Linked DNA regions of Homo sapiens: regions 1 and 3 are each linked to region 2. The links are contacts of gene promoters, found by promoter capture Hi-C in blood cells and fetal thymus (Javierre and others, 2016). All regions are on one chromosome and are shown on one strand. The core of a region is centred on a gene start or on the middle of the fragment in contact, and the rest is flanking DNA. Distances in the headings are between cores, read along the strand shown. Region 1 has its middle 16 kb from the start of NGDN. Region 2 holds the start of CHMP4A (charged multivesicular body protein 4A). Region 3 has its middle 26 kb from the start of DHRS2.

Region 1 (2,988 bases), core at 407-2,906, 760 kb before region 2:
CATATTTCTAATAAAGGACTTGTGTTAAGAATAGATAAAGAACAAGTACAACTCAATAATAATACAAGAAAATTTTAAAATAGTCAAAAGATTTATAGACTTAAAGTCAGCTAATTAGCAAGGTTAAAGAAAGAAAAGATTTATAGATATTTCAACAAAGATATGCAAATGTATAACAAGCACACAAAATATGCTCAACATCATCAATCATTATAGAAATTCTAATTAAAACCTCAATGAGATAGCACTTCATACCCATGAGTGTGACTATAATAAAAAAGAAAGGCAATAATAAATTGTGGCTAGGATGTGGAGAAACCAAAACTCTCCAACATTGCTGGTGAGAACGTAAAATGCAACAGCTACTTTGGAAAACAGTTTGAACTTTTCTTAAAAGCTTAACTGACATACATGTACCAAATAACTCAGCCATCCACTTTTGGGTATTTACTCAATAGAAAAGAAAGTATATATCCACACAAAGACTTATATAAACAAGTTCAAACAAGCGTTTGTTCATAAACGCTTGGATATTATTCATAATATCCAAAAAGTGGAAATAATCCCAATGTTTATCATTAGGTGAACAGATAAACAAAATGTGGTACATCCATACAATGGAATATTATTCAGCAATAAAAAGGAATGAGTACTGATACATGTTATTAATGTAACATGGATTAACCTCAAAAACATGCTAAATGAAAGAATCCAGATGAAAAGGCCACATATTTTATGATTCCATTTCTATGAAATGTCCAGAAAAGGAAAATCTATGAAGACAGAAGGCAGTGGCTGCCTGAAGCTGGTGGTGGAAATGGCAATGGACTGCAAATGGGTGTAAGGGATCCCTTTGGAGCATTGGGAATGCTCTAAATTGGATTGTGGTGATGCTTGCACAAATGTAAATTTTCCTTAAAAATAATTGAATTGTATAAAAGGGGTGAATTTTATGCTATGTAAATTATACCGCAATAAAGCTCTTAAAAAACTAAAGCAGTGTAAAATACTTTCGGTAAAACACAGCTTTGTTGTTTTGGTAGGATTGTTTTACTTCAACGATCAACATAAGATATTGTCGTATTATAGTAACATATCAAGAATATGTGTTGTTTCTAGTGTATACACAAACATCACCAAACTAGTTGTTGTCAATAGATTGATTTGCTCCAGTGCGTTTTTCTCACACTAATTTAACATTATAATGTGTTTATTTGAATATTTGATATAGACAGCATGGTTATAGTGATACCTATATAGAGTCATAATTGGTAATTAAATTGAAATACTTATTATTTTAATTTAATAAATATAACATTTTTATAGTTGAAAAATAAGTATGTACAAAATGTTTTAGTTTAAAACGAAGGCATGTTACTAACATAGAATCTAGTGGGAACACTTCTGATTGTGAACACTCCAACATGTAAAGAGATTATAAGTCGGTCACTCTCATTCTCAAAGCAAGAAGAAAGCTGAACTGAAAACCTACAACTTTTCTTAGTTCTATCAGAGAATTTTGGCTACAGGACAAACTATCACCCTGAAAACTGGAGAGACGGGTGAATACGGAGAATACAAGCCAGCTTACCTGAAGCAGGAGGTGCTGGAACCAGTAACTGACAGGAACACCTAAATGGTAACTTCGATGAATTGCCAGAGGCTGAGCGTGAATTAGCTTGAGAGTTAAAAACTCCTGGGACCCCAGTCTAAGGGGAGAACCCACACTTTCATGAGTTTTACCTCCCACCAGGTTCTCATGATGAAGAATGGAGAGAAATATCCTTATGTTTGGCAGGGCGAGGGTAAAGTGACCATTTAGAAATAAAACCAGAGCTTTCTCCACAACTAAGGCCTATCCAGCAGGGGGAAAGCCTTTGCCGATGTCTTCTTTTACTTGGGGAAAGGGAAATTATCTAGCTCCATCACATTCTGGACTTCCTGTCTCACATATGAGGTAAAAAACAAAACAAAACAAAAAAATACCCTAAGAAACAATTCATTCTGGACTTCTTATCTCACATATGAGGTACAAAACAAAACAAAACAAAAAAATACCCTAAGAAGCAATTATGAAGGTTACAGTCTAGAGTCACAGGTCCACTAAAATACTGAGCTCCAATCATGGGACTATAGAATGCTCTCCTACCCAGTATCTTGCTACCACATCAACAGGACTCCTGAATAGTAAAAGTGGATTATAGCTGACAGGGCTGCAAGGCTTAGATTCTATTTACGAAGGAGTTTCTAAGGAAACTCAAAGACAACAGAGGAGGCAAACACAAGGACTTTAGAAGAAATTAAAATCTTTGACACCTACTGCTGCAGCAAACTAAACACAGTCTAACTCCTGGTCAGATAAAAATAAAAATAAAACTTCACACACAGTCTACCTCAATTCCTATTACCATGTCTGCTTTCAGCAAAAAATTACAAGGCGTGCTAAAAGACAAGAAAAAATACAATCCAAAGAGACATAGCCAGCATCAGAACTAGACTCAGATGTGGCAGAGATTTTGGTATTATCTGTTTTAAAATGTACTGAAGATTTTGTTTCAATCAAGTATGGTAAAATGACAAACATGGAGACAACTGCCTTGAAAGAAGAGCTTATTACAGTTCTTAAGGGGAGGGGACAACTCATGCCACACAGGGCCAGATGGAGAAGCATCCGGTTCAGTCAGGAGGTAGACAGAGAGAGAAAAGCATGGACACAAGCCTTTATTGTGTTTCCCACAGGAAAGGAAGGCAGGGCAAGGTAAATAGCTTAGCTTTGACAAGTCTGGACAATTTCAGCAGGCTCTGTGTTACAGCAGTGATCTCTAGTTGTCTGGTCTCTGGCCCTGGGATTAATTAGGGCAGGGGAAGTACTGGCTTGGTGTGCAAGAGTTAGATAAAGGAGGTGGTTAGGGATACAAGCTTTGGATTGGTTGGTTTGCTGGATGCTCATGGGCAAGTTGTTTACTGCCTCTAGAAATTAGTTAGCTC
Region 2 (2,700 bases), core at 2-2,501:
GCATGTGCCACCATGCCTGGCTAATTTTTTGTGTTTTTAGTACAGACAGGCTTTCTCCATGTTGGTCAGGCTGGTGTCGAACTCCCAACCTCAGGTGATCTGCCCGCCTCGGCCTCCCAAAGTGTTTTGATTACAGGCATGAGCCACCGCGCCAGGACTTCTTTTTTTGAGACAGAGTCTCGCTCTGTTGCCCAGGCCAGAGTGCAGTGGCATGATCTCAGCTCATTGCAACCTCCGTCTCCCGGGTTCAAGTGATTCTCCTGCCTCAGCCTCCCTGAGTAGCTGGGACTACAGGCACACACCATCATGCCCACCTAATTTTTTTTTTTTTTTTTGAGAATGGAGTCTCCCTCTGTCACCAAGGCTGGAGTGCATTGGTGCAATCTTGGCTCACTACAACCTCCGCCTCCTGGGTTCAAGCGATTCACCTGTCTCAGCCTCCCCCAGTAGCTGGGACTACAGGCGCGTGCCACCACAACCAGCTAATTTTTTTTTTTTTTTTGTATTTTTAGTAGAGACAAGGTTTCACCATGTTGTCCAGGCTGGTCTCGAACTCTTGACCTCAGGTGATCCACCCACCTCGGCCTCCCAAAGTGCTGGGATTACAGGCGTGAGCCACCGCGCCCGGCCAATTTTTATATTTTTAGTAGAGACGGGGTTTCACCATATTGGCCAGGCTGATCTCAAACTCCTGACCTCATGATCCACCCACGTCGGCCTCCCAAAGTGTTGCGAGTACAGGCGTGAGCCCCCGCGCCGGGCTAAGAAGGCAGTCTTTCTTCTTCACCTTAGATCCCTCTTGCCCAGCACAAAGTATTATAGAACAAGGTTTTGAAAATGGCTGAAGACAGCAGGAAACTCGTCTTCAAGCCTGAACAGTGGGAGTCAGCACGATCGCCACGCCCTCAACTCAAGTCCCCTCCCAGATCTTGAGTTCTTCCCTCTGAGAGTGGGGGAGGACGGCGGACGGGAACAAGGCGCCCCGACATGGTGTGCCTTTTGGCACCGGCGATGAGCCTTGCTCCGCCATCGGCCGCCGGGGTTTTCCAGTCAGCCTGTCTCCTGATTCTCTTCCCCTGCCCGGCGCAGCGGTCCGGCCGAATCTCGCCGGGGTCTCCTCTTCCCCTGCACCAGCCAGCGCCTCCTGGCTGGCCAGTCCCACCCTGGCTCACCCTTCCCGAAGAGCCTGCCGAGACCACTCATCGCGAGCTCGCCTCTCCCGCCTCCGCCCCTCAGCGTCCTCCAGACTTCCGCCTTGCTCCTGGGAGGGTGATGTCTCATCACACAGGGACCAGCCTTGCCCAATCCGTCCTCAGGGCGCCGCCGCGACATCAAGAGGCGCAAACGAGACCACCGGTGTCACGTGACCCAAGCCACCAGCCCCAGACCGACGCGCTCCTCTTAAAGCTGCCACATCATTTTCTATTAAGTAAAAAGACAGTTCTATCTCCACCTGAGTACGTGCTTGTTCTCCGGAAGGAAATGTGCAGTGTGATGGCACCTCAGTGTATGGGGTCAGTGGGAAAACTTCATGCTCTTTACAGAGCTCAGGAAAGTGGGGTGGTATAGGTTCAAGCACTTGGGGTTGCCCTAAGTTTAGATGGCAAACCTGATGCAGTCTAATGTCTCACATTCTGGTCTCTGCACCTCAGGACAACCAACCCCATTTCACAGGCTAGAAAAATAGAAACTCCCCACACTGTGGGTAAAATCTCTTCTGTCACACACAGATGAACTTTAATAAATTACAAATGCACCTGAAAATGCCTTCTTGATTTCCTTTCAGTTTAGGCCTCAAATGGGCTCTCCTCAAGGCTGGACCTCAAAGGCCCAGTTTGGGCCTTCGCAAATGTCTCTAACCCTTGACTTAGAGTTTGAAGATTCATTCCATTCTGGATGTGAATGCAGGTAACACCTAGAAAGATAAGAAGTCACATTTCATTAAGCTTTCAGGGTTCTCCATTATTACTCTGACCTTTGTGAGTGCCACCTATAGGGCAAACTATCCAACCTGTATGTATCTACCTAATCCCTCCTAGGGACCCCAAATGGCTGTTCCTCATCACTCAGTACCCAGTTTGCTGACGTCTACAATATTCCGCCTCTCATCATCAAAGAAGATCATCTGGGAGAAAGGAATTCCAGTCTTCTGCTGCAACCTATTCAAGACAGGGCAGGAGTAACCAAGCTAGTATCTTGGTTTCCCAGGCCTCTCTGATACTTTCTCACCCTGCTCCTCCCTTATCTCCGCATACCTCTCAAAGTGTGTGATCTTGCTGCCTGGATAGATTTCCCGATGAACAAAGTACCTGAAGAGGTCAAAGAGCTCCAGTAGCTGGTTGGCCCCTTCTATCTCACTTGTCCTGCAAAACGGTGTAAAAGATGGGATTAGCAAAGTGAAGGGCCAGGGCTACGTTAACTTATTAAGCAAAGTTAGTAAGTATAACCAGGGAAATCAACTTGCTGTTTTTCCGGGATGGACAGGCATCCTCAGCCTCTGTTTAACTCCATTGCCTTCCTATTTGACACAATTGGTGCTGGGCCAATGTTTTAGCTTTTGTTTTGAGACAGGGTCTAGCTCTGTTGCCCAGACTGGAGTGCAGCGACCCAATCACGGCTCACTGTGGTCACGACCTCCTGGGCTCAAGTGATCCTCCCACCTCAGCCTCCCAAGTAGCTGGGACTACAGGTGCACGCCAC
Region 3 (2,700 bases), core at 60-2,559, 600 kb before region 2:
AACTCCATTTAGAAGGCTTCCCTTCATCTCAAAGTCACCATGTCAATAGGTAGAATTCATATTTTCTATCAAGCTTGTTTCTTCTCCTCTGTTACCTATTTTTGTTGGCAATGCCACCATTGTCCCTGGCTTCATGTTTGGATCCTCTCTGTCTCTTTTCTCTCGTGTCAAAGCATTTAGAAAGACCAGATCTTTCTCTGTAAGACTTCGCAACTATTCTCTACTTTCCCTTCCCAGCACCATCACCTGGGGTTGTGCCACCATTACCTCTTGCCTGGATTATAGATATGACCTCATAATGGGTATTACCCTACACAAGTTTCATTCCAATTCCTCTCACACATAGTTGCCAGATTAATCTTCTGAATCATCAGATTCAAAGTCCTTTTGGTTTCCCTTTGTTTATGCATTGGCCAGAAATTCAAAATTTTATACAGTTCTGTATTAGTTCATTTTCACGCTGCTGATAAAACATACCCAAGACTGGGTGATTTATAAAGAAAAAGAGGTTTAATGGACTCACAGTTCCATATGGCTGGGGAGGCCTCACAGTCATGGCAGAAGACCAAGGAAGAGCAAAGGGACTTCTTACATGGTGGCAGGCAAGATAGAGAGCCATGCAAAAGGGGAAGCCCCTTATAAAAACATCAGATCTCGTGAGACTTATTCACTATCATGAGAACAGTATGGGGACATAGCCAAACCATGTCATTCTACTCCTGCGGTTTTGCAAGGTACAAAGTCCCTCCCGGCTGCTTTTATGGGCTGGTGTTGAGTGTCTGCGGCTTTTCCAGGTGCATGGTGCAAGCTGTTGGTGGATCTACCATTCTAGGGTCTGGAGGATGGTGCTCCACTAGGCAGTGCCCCAGTGGGGACTTTGTGTGGGGGCTTCAACCCTACATTTCCAGGCCCCGACTGCTGTGTATGGAAATGCCTGGATGTCCAGGCAGAAGTTTGCTGCAGGGGCAGGGCCCTCATGGAGAGCCTCTGCTAGGGCAGTGCAGAAGCGAGATGTGGGGAGGTACAATTCAAGATGAGTTTTGGGTGGGGACGCAGCCAAACCATATCAAGTCCCAGTGACTACAGTTTGGTTTTCCAAATTTGTTTCCTATTTCTTTCTTTCCTGTCCTCTTCCTTTCCAATACTTTCATATAGCCTCTTGTTCCTTCAGGTTCTGTGCACTTTATTTATACTCTCCCCTCTGCCAGAAATGTTTTTGGTACTTTTTAGGATTAGGTTAAGTTATGAGTGAGAGAAAACCCAGTGTAAGGGGCCCATTGAGGTTGCACCAGAGCCCCTGTGACCCGTTTAATCATCTCCCACAGCTTCTGCACATCGAGAGAAGCAGGGGCAGCCTTTAGCTGAACTAGGTAACAGCCTAGTTCCATTGTCTGAAATCTGGGCAAACTGTGAGGTGTAGTTTACACTCCAGAACTGACCTTTGGGACCAGGCTAAGGCTGGGGCTTTGCTGAAACATTCCCTTGCTTGTCCTCCTCCCTTCCCTGTCTTACTTTCCACACTCCCTTACTGGTTTCTCCTGGGAGCATTTTTTTAATTTTTATTTTTGAGACAAGGTCTCACTTTGCCACTAAGGCTGGAGTGCAGTGGCATAATCATAGCTCACTGTAACCTCAAACTACTATGCTCAAAGGAACTTCCTGCCTCAGCTTCCTGAGTAGCTGGGACTACAGGCACACATGACCTGATCAGCTAATTTTTAAATTTTTTGTAGAGACAGGGGTCTCACTATGTTACTCAGGCTGGTCTGAAACTTCTGGCCTCAAGCAATCCTCCTGTCTTGGTCTCCCAAAGTTCTGGGATTATAGATAGGAGCCATTGCTCCCTGCTGGGAGCATCTGTTTAATAAACTACTTGCACATAAAGCCTTGTCTTAGGATCTGCTGTGGTAACCCAACCTAAGACACTTGTAACAGTGGCTTAAACAAGACTGTAGCGGGCCTCATATCGTGCCTTCGTGATCAGACTGCCTCAACATTGTAGTCCACATCCTCAACATGTGCCTTCTGAGGCCAAAGATAGCTGCTTTGTCTCCAGTCATCAGAGTCATGTTCTAGACAGCAGGAGGGAGACAAAGAAAGGAGGTGGGCATGCTCCTTCCACTTGAGAACACCTCATGGAAGTTTCATCCCTGACTTCTCTATAACCTTTTATGCAGAACATGGTCAGGTAGCCGTGCCTGGCTGCAAGGGCAGCTGGGAAATATAGCCTTTATTCTCAGTGGTCAATTGCACAGCTAACATTTTGGAATATGATTACTGTGGAAGAAGAGGAAACAGACATTAGGAGACAACTTGTAGTTTCAGTTACATGCTCCTTCTCATCTCTGCCTGTCCAGAGTCTTCCAAACCCAGTGCAAATGCCACTTTCACCTCAAATCCTTCCTTGAGCTACTAGTTAAAAGTTATCACTCCCTCATGGCACTTTGTGTGCCCTTTCCTTGTGACACCGCAGTTTTTCTACCTGGCTTGTAGTTACTTAAATATGCCTTCCCCACAGGACTGTAGACATCTTTAGAGTAGAGGGCAAGCTTCAGTGAATTTCTGAGTTGAAAATTGAAATACTACAATCCCATACTCTGGAGAGTGTGGTTTTGGAGCCCGACCAATCTGGTTCAAAGGCAAGCTTTATCTTTAAACCAGTTATACAACATTCATTTGCTTATTCTACAAATATTTATT

The links. Contacts are between HindIII fragments. The CHiCAGO score rates a contact against its expected background, and 5 or more counts as called.
Region 1: a contact is called between a fragment that was not itself captured here and the fragment with the promoter of CHMP4A in region 2, in 1 of 17 cell types (erythroblasts). The highest score is 5.3, in erythroblasts.
Region 3: a contact is called between a fragment that was not itself captured here and the fragment with the promoter of CHMP4A in region 2, in 1 of 17 cell types (non-activated CD4 T cells). The highest score is 5.5, in non-activated CD4 T cells.

What each region holds. Positions count from the first base shown.
Region 1 is chr14:23,451,802-23,454,789 of GRCh38, forward strand. No RefSeq gene overlaps it. Among named protein-coding and RNA genes, the nearest start is that of NGDN, 16 kb to the right of the region's middle. The HindIII fragment of the contact is 2,522 bases long and covers 396-2,917 here.
Region 2 is chr14:24,212,237-24,214,936 of GRCh38, forward strand. CHMP4A (charged multivesicular body protein 4A) reads right to left here and starts at 1,252. Exons shown (of 6, transcript NM_014169.5): 1 at 1,173-1,252. The coding sequence starts at 1,203. It overlaps NEDD8-MDP1 (NEDD8-MDP1 readthrough), which reads right to left. Exons shown (of 7, transcript NM_001199823.3): 5 at 2,256-2,363; 6 at 2,074-2,159; 7 at 1,707-1,915. The coding sequence ends at 1,788. It overlaps MDP1 (magnesium dependent phosphatase 1), which reads right to left. Exons shown (of 6, transcript NM_138476.4): 4 at 2,256-2,363; 5 at 2,074-2,159; 6 at 1,707-1,915. The coding sequence ends at 1,788. RefSeq lists enhancers at 661-780, 735-1,543, 971-1,470, 1,107-1,401, 2,556-2,700. The HindIII fragment of the contact is 5,751 bases long and covers 1-1,944 here.
Region 3 is chr14:23,608,904-23,611,603 of GRCh38, forward strand. No RefSeq gene overlaps it. Among named protein-coding and RNA genes, the nearest start is that of DHRS2, 26 kb to the right of the region's middle. The HindIII fragment of the contact is 2,476 bases long and covers 72-2,547 here.